4 separate regions of the Homo sapiens genome follow, and regions 2, 3 and 4 are each linked to region 1. Evidence: promoter capture Hi-C in 16 types of primary human blood cells and fetal thymus (Javierre and others, 2016). All regions are on one chromosome and are shown on one strand. The core of a region is centred on a gene start or on the middle of the fragment in contact, and the rest is flanking DNA. Distances in the headings are between cores, read along the strand shown.

What was found. Contacts are between HindIII fragments. The CHiCAGO score rates a contact against its expected background, and 5 or more counts as called.
Region 2: a fragment that was not itself captured here is called in contact with the fragment with the promoter of AGFG1 in region 1 in 1 of 17 cell types (M2 macrophages); the score reaches 5.4 in M2 macrophages.
Region 3: a contact is called between a fragment that was not itself captured here and the fragment with the promoter of AGFG1 in region 1, in 2 of 17 cell types (M2 macrophages and monocytes). The highest score is 6.8, in M2 macrophages.
Region 4: a contact is called between a fragment that was not itself captured here and the fragment with the promoter of AGFG1 in region 1, in 1 of 17 cell types (M1 macrophages). The highest score is 5.4, in M1 macrophages.

Annotation. Positions count from the first base shown.
Region 1 is chr2:227,470,797-227,473,650 of GRCh38, reverse strand. AGFG1 (ArfGAP with FG repeats 1) reads right to left here and starts at 1,495. Exons shown (of 13, transcript NM_004504.5): 1 at 1,063-1,495. The coding sequence starts at 1,229. It overlaps MIR5703 (microRNA 5703), which reads right to left and starts at 1,519; the gene lies at 1,464-1,519. LOC124907994 (a long non-coding RNA gene) reads left to right here and starts at 1,552. Exons shown (of 2, transcript XR_007088114.1): 1 at 1,552-2,491; 2 at 2,662-2,854. RefSeq lists a silencer at 787-1,506 and an enhancer at 1,619-2,582. The HindIII fragment of the contact is 6,204 bases long and covers 99-2,854 here.
Region 2 is chr2:227,844,617-227,847,470 of GRCh38, reverse strand. No RefSeq gene overlaps it. Among named protein-coding and RNA genes, the nearest start is that of DAW1, 26 kb to the left of the region's middle. The HindIII fragment of the contact is 8,455 bases long and covers 1-2,854 here.
Region 3 is chr2:227,821,104-227,823,957 of GRCh38, reverse strand. No RefSeq gene overlaps it. Among named protein-coding and RNA genes, the nearest start is that of CCL20, 8.7 kb to the right of the region's middle. The HindIII fragment of the contact is 2,307 bases long and covers 334-2,640 here.
Region 4 is chr2:227,800,493-227,803,346 of GRCh38, reverse strand. It overlaps the pseudogene LOC100533842. Among named protein-coding and RNA genes, the nearest start is that of CCL20, 12 kb to the left of the region's middle. The HindIII fragment of the contact is 5,314 bases long and covers 1-2,854 here.

The DNA.
Region 1 (2,854 bases), core at 246-2,745:
AAGATAATAATATAAAAGCATTTTATCAATTCCAAAACCACCTGCAAATTTTCCGAATGAAATTGCACGGCAATAAAAATCTTTATCAAAATAAAGCTTAATGAAGCAAAGAACAACAAACACAAATCATCCCAGTAACTCAGGACGGTAGTGTCTTTCTGAAATCATGGTGACTTGCTAGCTCTCCTCATTTCTGTGTACAGCCAGGGCACTCGGGTATTGATAGCGAGATACAGATAAATCTCACAGATAACTCCATCATATTTAGAATCACACAGCTCCTAGTGGGTACCTTATTGCCATTAAAACTTTCCCCCAACTCCTCAACACTCTCTTCGGACCATAAAACTAAAATCCCACAGCTTCAAATCTGCTCCTCTGCCTCCCCCTCCCGCAATTAATCCTTTCGAACTTTTCCCAGGGGATTCACATCTGCCATCAAGATGCTTTCATCCTGCTACTATTCCTAAGTGCCTGCTTCCTCCCAGTTACGTAGGTACTCTCGACCCAGAAAAAAGGCACGGGCGAGGCAGGCGTCCCTCCCTCCCACCCCAGCTTCTCCCCGACCCCCAGCAGGAGCGCCCAGCAGGTGCCTCGCTCCGCACCGCGGCTCCCGGGCCGCTGAGAGGCGGGGCACACAAAGGACCCGCATGGACCTCCCCCCCGGCCTCCTAGCGTCTTCCCCCACCCCCCACAGCCCGGCGCCCCGGGTAGCTGGAGAGCGAGGGCGGCGGCCGCAGGCTCGACGGAGACCAGGGACGCTCGCCCCGGTCGCCCCCTCCCTGACCCCAACCCCGCCCACGTCCCACCCACGAAGGCTGCCCAGAACGTAAACCCTCGCCCGGCAAAACCGAAAACGCATCCCCAGCCCGGCTGCCCGGGCCCTGCGCATCCAGCCCGCAGCCTCCCACGCCGCGCCCGCCAGCCGGCGCCCAACGGCCGCCCCCGACCGCCTCCCACGGCACCCGGCTCTTTCCCAGCCCCGGAAGGGTCCCGGTCCCGCCGCCCGCTCCCCCACCTCCCGGGAAGGGCCCGACACCCGCCCGGCCGCCCCGCACTCACAGGCTGCCGGAGCAGGAGGTACACACGAAGGAGCCGACCGTCATGTTAACGTAGGTGGGGCCGCGCTGGTCGCAGTCGAAGCACTTTCGGTTGTGCGGGAGGCCGGTCATGTCCCGCAGCATCTTCAGGTGCTTCTCCTCCTGCTTCCGCTTCGCGCTGGCCGCCATGGCCGCGGCGCCAAGGGAGGAGGCCGGCAGGGCCGGGAGCCGGGCAGCGCTGCGCCGGGGGCCCGCGGTCCCACGGGCCGCCCTGGCCGCGGCCGCCGCCCTCCGTCTGCGCGCGCCGCCCGCGCCGGACCCGGCCGCAGCGGCTTGGCTGTACTGGGCTCGACGCGGCCCGGGCGCTGTGGTACGCGGGCTGACGGGCCACACCAACCGGCACAGCCGGGACAACCGCCGCCGCCGCCGCCACCTTCCCGACTTCTCCTGAGGGGAAAAGACGAGGAAGGGGACGGCAAGAGGAGGCCCGCCCTGGGCGGCCGGTAGCCAAGTGTCCGCTGGCGCCCTCTGCTGGCCAGGAGGAGTCACTGCGGCCTCGCTGAGGCATGGGCCGGGTCTGGAGCCAAGTAGGGTAGACACAATGGTGATAATAATATTAATAATAGACAGTATTTATTGAGCGCTTATATATGCAAAGCGTTTCACATGGGTTACCTTCCCCTTCTGTTTAAAACTCTTCAAGGGCTTTCCACTGCTTTGAGTATAATTCCAAATTCCTCACCGTGCCGTAAAAAGTGCTCCATAGTCTAGCCCAGTCTACCTCATTCTTCGTCGTCCTCACTCAGCCACACTGGATTTTGAGTTTTCTGAACACAGCAAGCTCCTTTCTGACTCCTGCAGGACCTTTGCCCTTGCTCTTCTCTCTTTATCTTTGGGCCAGCTAATTTGGGGGGGCTTGGGGTGTCCTGTGCACTGTAGGATACTGGGCGGCGTTCCTAGCCTATACCCACTAGATACAAGAACAAACCCCCCAATTCCCATTGCTGGCAACCAAAAATCCCCAGACATTGCCAAAAGTGGAGGGAACTTTAGGGCGGTGCAGTCACCTGGCTTGAGAACTGCTGCGTGTGGAAACCCGGATCATCCATAGCTGACATCCTCTAAGTCAGGTGGGGCTCAGATGTCACCTCCCCCGCCAGACTGTCCCAGATCAGCCGAGTTAATGTTGCAGCTCACCTTTCTCGAAGTTGCTCTCCATCAAATTGCTGCGTTGTATTTTCGTCTCAGTTCTAGCTATTTGAAATACTGCATCTTATTTCGTGTTTACCATGGGTGATCTGGACTCTCCCTTTAGGCGCTAAACAGCCTGGCCCCCGTATTTTCTGTGCCACTCCACCCCATTCCCCTCGCAGAGCTGGAGACTAGGTGTTCAATGTTGACGGAATGAATACATGAAATCGTTCATGTAATCTTCACAACAACCCTTCGAGGTGAGCGTTATTGTTATTTACATTTTACAAAACAGGAAGATGAAACCCTGAGGGATTAAGTAAATTTACCCAAGGGTACCTATGGCGAAGCTCAATTCCAACCCAGACAGCCAGACTGCAGGACCCAAATCCCCACTGCAACAATCAACTTCGTCTCTCGTTTTCCAAAGGAGTACAGGGAGACCCAGAGAGCTGAAGTTCTCAAATCACTGGGCTGTTGAATGGATTAGAATCTACGTTTCCTAACAGCCAAGACCAACCTCCACATCTCTCATGAAAGGGATTGGGTGAATCAACAAAGTGAGACTTCATATTAATATAATACTACTAATAATAATTAATGTTTTTAATATTAAAAGAAAT
Region 2 (2,854 bases), core at 247-2,746, 370 kb before region 1:
TGCTTTGGGGGCCCCATTTCTTAAACCCTCACACTCACCTGGAGGGCCGGAGTAGAGGGAAGAATTGCAGTGCCGAAGGAGTGAAATAGACAAAGAAGACTTTAGCGTGAGTCTTGCCTCTGCCTAGACAGCTCTTTCCTTCTCTGCTAATTTCCTATTTTCCCTCTAAGACTTATCCATGGAGTGAGGACTTATTCTCACCTTCCTAGCCCTGTTGGCCAAATCTCATTTAACTTCATTATCACTCTAAATTCAAGGTGGGATTGTAAATTTGATCTTTTAAAAATTTTTTCAGTTACAGCAACATATGGAAGAATGCATAAAATAAATATACAGAATATTGAATCATTACTTTTTGAAAATCTGTGAAACTGCATGCAAATCAGCACTTCCTGAAACCTCATGTGTCTTGTTTCAGCCATACCCTGCTCACATGCTCCTGGAAACAACTACTGTCCTTTCCCTTCTGGTAATCACTTCTTCACTTTTCTTTATAGTTTCACTAGCTTTGTATGCATGCTTAAAAATAAAGTTTAATTTTTCCTGGTGTTGAATTTTATAGAAATAGGGTCATCTTGTGGGTGTTCTCTCTTGTCGTCTTCCTTTCAATCAATGCCATGTTTAAGATTCCAGGATGTTACTGCATTCAGCTGTAGTTTATTTTCTCTTCTGTCTAGATTTCCATTGTGTGTGATACCCCACAATTTATTTATTCTTTCTAAAGTTGATGGCCCAGTTTGGAGCTACAATAAACAATGCTTCTGAAAACATTCGTTTACAAGAATCCTGGCACATGTATGCATGCATTACTCAGGGACACGTATGAGAAAGAATTGCTGACTCACAGAGTATACATGTGTTCAGCTTTAGTAGAAAACGCCACACTGGGCCAGGCACAGTGGCTCACACCTGTAATCCCAGCACTTTGGGAGGCCGAAATGAGAGGACTGCTTCAGCCCAGGAGTTCAAGACCAGCCTGGCCAACATAGTGAGATCCTGTCTCTAAAAATAATAAAAATAAAAAATTAATCAGGCGTGGTGGCATGTGCCTATAGTCCCAGCTGCTTGGGAGTCTAAGGTAGGAGGATCATTTGAGCCCAAGAGTTTGAGCCTTCAGTGAGCTATGATCACACTGCTGGACTCCAGCCTGGGAACAGAGCGAGACTCTGTCTTCAAAAAGATTTTTTAAGACAAACTGTTTTTCAATGGGGTTACCACAGTTTTCTTTCTCACCAGCAATGTATGGGAATTCCTTTTGCTCCATAGCCTTGCCAAAACCCTTGCTTAACCAATGGGCAGAGATGGTATTTTCCGTCTCTATATACCTGGAGCTACAGGATTGACTGGCATGTAGAAGATGCTCTCATTCGTTATTTTATAAAATTCCCTTATGTTTATGAATCATTATAGACTTAGTCCAAGTCTAAAATTTTTCAAGGATCCATCTTAGGGGGATTTATGGTCAAGTGCATGTGAACAACACCAACTCTGGAAATTTTTTTTTTTTGAGATGGAGTTTCACTCCTGTTGCCCAGGCTCGAGTGCAATGGTGCAATCTCAGCTCACCGCAACCTCTACCTCCTGGGTTCAAGCAATTCTCCTGCCTCAGCGCCCTGAGTACCTGGGATTCCAGGCACTTGCCACCACGCCCAGCTAATTTTTTGTATTTTTAGTAGAAACGGGATTTCACCATATTGGCCAGGCTGGTCTTGAACTCCTGACCTCAGGTGACCCACCCACCTCAGCCTCCCGAAGTGCTGGGATTACAGGTGTCAGTCACTATCCCTGCCCTATATTGCTATGTTTCTTATGGAACATATCCTTAAACCCTCACCTCTAATACATAAATAGATGCCTAGTAAATTTTGTAAAATTACAAGTCATTATGTATGGATTTTTGTTAAAAGATGTCAAAGAAGACACATTTGGACACACCCAGCACTGTGTCTTCATACTTTTCTGGAGATCATTTATTTACTAGGAATGAGATGAAGTGAAGGGCTTCATGCACAGAAAGCTGAAACTTATATACACGTGTTCCAGGATTTTTTTTTAATGTCAGTGAAGTTTTGCTAATAAAAATTTCCCCACCTACAAGTGAATGTTTCCCTTAATTCAGATGTTAATTGAGTGTATGAGGTAATGCTCTACTTTTTTTTTTTAATGCCATTTGGTTAGGGTCTCTGTGATAAGGTGGCTTAAAATTCTCATCTTTAAATCTCTTCAAACTTTAAAACTTTTTCCCTTAAACAATGTACATTTGAAAGGTTTCTTCAGATAGAACACAGGTCTATTAGAAAATTGTTTCCCTTTATAAAGAATTTTTAACAAGTTTATAAGAAAAGAGAATATTAGTCATTAGAAAATTTGTGTAAATTGTTGTTAGACTTCAAAAAACAATGTTTGACACACAGAAAGGAAAGAACCCCCCTGGGCTTCATCTCACCCAGTTATCAGTCCCTAACAACTTCATGAAGTCATTTCCTAAATGATGGATAAATCCTTGTTAGAGCGTTATAGTCATCAATCAATAGAACAAAGAAAAGATTAAAACTTTATTCCAAATGATTGCATTTTAGGGCCAAGCACAGTGGCTCACACCTGTAATCTCAGCACTTTGGGAGGCTGAGGCAGGTAGATCACTTGTGGTCAGGAGTTCAAAACCAGCCTGGGCAACATGGTGAAACCTTGTCTCTAAAATTAGTTGGGCATGGGCATGGTGTGCGCCTGTAGTCCCAGCTACTCAGGAGGCTGAGGCAGGAGAATTGCTTGAACCTGGGAGGCGGAGGTTGCCTCCCAGGTTCAGTTGAGATCACGCCACTGCAAACAAGCCTGGCCAACATGGTGAAACCTT
Region 3 (2,854 bases), core at 238-2,737, 350 kb before region 1:
CATCCCCATCCTCTGTCCCTTTTCCCAACTTTATTGTCCTCACATTTCATACATTTATTTGGTGCTATGTGTTGTGTGTCCCCACTTCTAAACCATGAGGCACATGAAAGCCGCAAGGTTGTCTTGTTTATCCCCAATGACCGCCTCAGGACCTGGCACAGAGTAAGTGTTCAATAAACATCTCTTGGTTGAATGAATAAATGAGTGAGTGAGTGGAAAACATTATTTTTATCCAATAAACTGTGAAGAGATGTAGCAAGAAAGAAAAGTACAACAGTGTGATATATGTCTGGCACTGCTAGGGAAGAAGGTGTCCACATCACAATTGAAGCTTACTCCTTGGAGAAACAAACTTTTTATTTGGAAGCCTTTTTAATCCAAAAAAAAAGTCTAAAATGCTCTAATACTTTGATGGTAACTTCTAGAACAGCAGAGCAAACAGATGTACAAGAAGATTGCAAATAAACAGCCCCAAGACTGAGCATCTGCCGTCTCCTTGACACAAAAATATCTTATGCCAGAGGCCAGGAGGGAGCCCTGAGACCAACTCTAGACTCCATTGTATTTCTAAAGACTGTGTGACCTTGAGTAAGTTTCTTAACTCTCCTGAGCCTCAGTTTCTTTACCCAAGAACAGGCATAAAAATAGAGTTCAGAGCTCATATTCCAATGAGGTACATTGGCAATCTTAGCAGATGATATTAACATACAAATGCTTAAATAATCTAAATATTATTAATGACATGATTACTACCCAAATCTTTGTATTCATCTTTTCTTTCTCATACTGCTAGTGCTTCCGTCCCAATTCTCCTTTGTGCCTCCAGCTGAACTCCACAATGCCCCCCATGACCTTCAGTGGAAACTTTTTTCTGTTGTAAAGCAACTTCTCTGTCCTTCCATCTTCCACTTCTCCATCTCCTGGCTTCATCTGAAATCAGATTTTATGGCAAGAACACTACTTCTCCCTGGGGTCTTCTCAACATGAAGGGGCTCCTCTCTCACTCCTCTCCCACCACAGGGCCAGGAGTGGGTAGAGACCAGTATTCTTGTGCTTCCATGATGGCACTTTCTCATTCCTACACACCTTTCCCATCATCTTCTTTGAAGCATATGGATGTCATTAGACCATCCACTTCCCCTCCCGCTGGCTGTCAGTTAATGGCCTTGATCAGTTCTTCAGCTCAGTGTTCCCTTTCATTCCTGTTGACATCAGTGTGGACCACTTTGTACCCATGTGGCATAATGCCACTTATTCAGTAGCCTTGTCCCCTTGCATAGTAAATTCCAATCCAACCCAGCCTCTATTTCTAAGTAGGGTCAAAGAACATGCTAAATAACACCACAGGAATGCAATTAACAAAACCCACAAGGTGGGAAACCACAGAACAAATGTCTTGGTTTCTCCAAAGCATAAATTTCAAAGGAAAAGGAAAGGAGATGGGGGCTGGTGGTGAGGAGCTCTCAGATTAAAAGCAAAAAAAAAAAAAACAAGCCAAACAAATGAAGTGTGTGGACCTCTTTCGGATCTTCATTTACACCTTCATCTACATCTTTATATCTTCATTTAAAGAAAAGATGGATGCAAATAATGTTTTTTAAAACAATTTTTTTTAAAGCAAGCAAGAAAATTTGAACACTGGACATTGGGTGATATTAGAGAATTAGTGTTGATTTTTAAATCCATGTGAGGGAAATTGTATGTTTTTAAAAGTTCATATATATATATATATATATATATATATATATATATATATATGTACATATATAGAGAGAGGGAGAAGTACTTATAAACAAAATAATTTAATGTCTAGAAATTGCTTCAAAGTAATCCAGGGGGATAGATGGGAAGAAGTGAGTTGGGTGGTGTAGATGTAACAAGATTGGCCATTAGTCAGTTGAATCCAGATGGTGGATACAAGGGGGATTTTTATATGATTCTCTCCACTTTTGTACTTTCCATAATAAAAAGTGGAGGGAAGCAGGGCATGGTGGCTTATGCCTGTAATCCCAGCTCTTTGGGAGGCTGAGGCAGGAGGATGCTTGAGCCCAGGAGTTCAAGACCAGCCTGGGCAACATAGTGAGACCCCAACTCTATATTTTTTTAAAAAAGAGGGAAAAAGTAGAGGGAAAATCAATGGGAATGACTCATCCATCCTGGTAGCCTTCCAGTCATCGCCCTGCTACCCCACCACTTGAGTTGCACACCCACAGTCACACACTTGGACTTTGGCCCCTGGAGCTGCTCCAGCCCCTCCAGCCCTCCCATTCTCCTGCTCTTTGACCACATTGAGGCCTTTTATCTGAGGGCCTCCCCATACTCTCTCAGTGTCTCAGATACCTTTGGACCTCATCTCCTGTCTCTGGTCTAGACTGCATGGTTCAGCACTTTAACCCCTCTCTGAACCTCTGTCATTGACTCTTGCCCTCTTGTCCTTGCACTGTGCCTAGATGCAAAGCCTGACCCTAAACTAGTCCAACTAGTCACCACTGTCTATTCTTACACCCAAACTGCAGCAGGCCACCTGGTGTGTGCCAATGGAAATCACAGCAGCTTAGTTATCTCCGACTTCAGTGAACCCCAACACTGTGGAACAACCTTGAGTGTACCCCTGTGTCCTCTACTGACTATCTCAAAGCTTCTCCATTCATGTCAAAGCTCACTCATCACTCTCAAAAGGTGACTAGTCTTTCACCAAGAAAAGCAAGACCACCATATTCAAAGTCTGTCAACTTCCTCCATCCCAAATTGCAAAATTCTCCCCACCTACTCCTGCTCTTTCTTGAGTGAATTTTGTTCCGAAGGAAGAGATGACTCAGCTGAACTGTGTTCTGGAAACCCGCCTTTTGAGAGA
Region 4 (2,854 bases), core at 254-2,753, 330 kb before region 1:
TTGTTTAAACCACAGTAAAGAACCTGGATGCCCCAGTCTGATAACTGGGGCTCTTATTTCAGGAATGGAGTCTTGATGCTCACCAAACCAATTTTTGAATAAACATTTGGACACCCACCTGAGTTGATGATCAAAGAAAGTTCACTCCTTTTTTCACCTACTGAGAGTTCATTACATTCATATTTCGTTTCCCTGTAGAAAGAACAATTGACATAAAATTCAGCTAATTCCTCTATTCATTGTTTATCCTGTTTGGGAGGCTTTTCAAGTTCCCCAGGTTTCTCACCTCCTTGCTTCCTATTTAAGGTCACAGCAGAGGAGCCTCTATTAACATGTGTGAAGAAATCAGCAGAGTTTTTATAGGATTTACACTGGTAACTCGCAGAGCAAAATATTTCAAAGTTTTTTATACAGGACCCATGGAACATCACCCTTCCAGAAGCCAGCAAGGTAAGGCTATCAAAAGGTTTGAAGATGGCCTAACAGGGCTAAGGAATGGAGAAGAGGATGGGCCTTCTCTGCCTTGTCATCTTCAGGAGAAGAAGTGCATTTGATGTGCTAACATCTAAGCCAGTGGTGGGCTTATCCAGAAACAGAACAGTTATAGCTCTCATCACCTCCATTGCAATGCTGGGCTTCTTTCTCTGTCCTCCAGACACACCCCAAATGACCTGGTTTTCTACATTGGAGTCTGCTAATTTTGCTGAAGGCCACCTCTTGAATGGTTTTGTTAATGTGTGTTTGTTTTTTTGTTTTTGTTTTTTTGTTTGTTTCTTGCCTGACTGTTTATACTTGTTGACAGCCGAAGGGCTGCTGAAAATTTTTTCCTTAACCATCGCTCCCATCGCTATACCATCTGAGACTACATAATCTGAGATACCTTTTTTGTTGTTGTTGTTGTTGAGATAGCGTCTCAATCTGTCGCCCAGGCTGGAGTGCAGTGGTGTGATCTTGGCTCACTGCAACTTCCACCTCTTGGGTGCAAGTGATCTTGTCAGCCTCCCCAGTAGCTGGGACTACAAGCACACACCACCACCCCTGGCTAATTTTTGCATTTTTAGTAGAGACGGGGTTTCACTGTATTGCCCACGCTGGTTTCGAACTCCCAGCCTCAAGCAATCCCCTGGCCTCAGCCTCTCAAAGTGTTAGGATTACAGGCATAAGCCATTGCGCCCAGTCTTGAGATACTTTTGAAGTTCCAGGTTGCAGGGTTTCATTTAGCAAAACATCTGCAGAGAGACCACAGGAATCCTTCCTTGCCTCCACCAGAGGGTCCCAGGATAGTATTAAAACCAGGTTTTATTACCCATTGACAACCTTCAATATCTCCTTCTCAACTGTTTTTTAACCAACCAGAAGCCACTCTTTACCTTCATTTAATAGTAAATACTGTGAAAACACAGGTACATCAGATAATGTCCCTAAGTTTTTGGAGGGCCCAGCAGGTAGACCATTAACACTGGTTGTTGTTGTTGTTGTTTTTAAGTGATGGGGCCTGGCTACCTTGGCCAAGTTGGTCTTCAACTCCTGGCTTCAAGCAATCCTCCCAACTCAGCCTCCTAAAGTGAGGGCATTACAGGTGTGAGCCACAGCACCCAGCCTGTCAGTGCTTGTTTTTGATCTTGGGAAAATAAAAACGTTTTTTGCAGACATGTAGAAATTGTTTTTTTCCACTGTGCTGCCATGGGATGAAATTAACTTTTCACATAGAACCCTAAATTGAATTCTGATTTATGAAACTGCTAGGGCCACTTCTTTTCTGCTATGGAAAATAATCTCTGCTTAGTCTTCAATGTTAGAACATTTACATGCATACATTCACACACAACTATACACACAAAGTACAAACTATGGTCAGGGAGGAAAAAGGACATGAACTATTATCACTCAAATAACGACTCATTTACATGAACCCTACTGTTCACTGAAGAGGAAGGATAGAAATTCACTCATTCATTCAATAAAGATCCATTGTGCACCTAATTTTTTTTTTTTTTTTTTTTTGACGGTATCTCACTCTGTCGCCCAGGCTGGAGTGCAATAGCATGACCTCCCTCACTGCAACTTCCGCCTCCCAGGTTCAAGCAATTCTCCTGCCTCAGCATCCTGAGGAACTGGGATTACAGTTGCATGCCACCACACAGGCTAATTTTTGTATTTTTAGTAGAGACGGGGTTTCACCACGTGGGCCAGGCTGGAATGCACCTAGTTTATGTTAGAGACTGTTCATGTCACGAAGAATAAAGTGCTAAGTAAAACAGTCTCTACCGTCATACAACTTAGATTATTAGTAGACGAGTGCCCATTGGTTGACGACAAAGTAACAAATCAGAGAGAGAGAGAGAGAGAAAGAAAGAGAGAATGAGAAAGAGTAGAAGAAACACACAAGAAACTAACTAATTAACATATAAGTAAGTTAATATCATGTGGTGGAAGTGTTATGAAGCCAAATTAAGCAGGATAATGGGAAGAGAGTGTCCACGGGTGTCATCTGAGATAAAGTGATCAGGAAAACCTCTCTATGGAGAAAACATCGACCAGGGACCTGTATGAAGTAAGGGATGGAGCCGTGCAGACATCTGGAGAAAGAGCATCCAAAGCGGAGAGAAAAAGGCAGGCTGCAGTGGCTCATATCTGTAATTCCAGCACTTTCGGAGGCCAAGGCTGCCGGATCACTTGAGGCCAGGAGTTCAAGACCAGCCTGGACAAAGTGGTGAAACCCCATCTCTACTAAAATTACAAAAATCAGCCAGGCGTGGTGGCGCATGCCTGTAATCCCAATCACTCAGGAGGCTGAGGCAGGAGAATTGCTTGAACCCGGGAGGTGGAGGTTGCATTGAGCCGAGATCGTGCC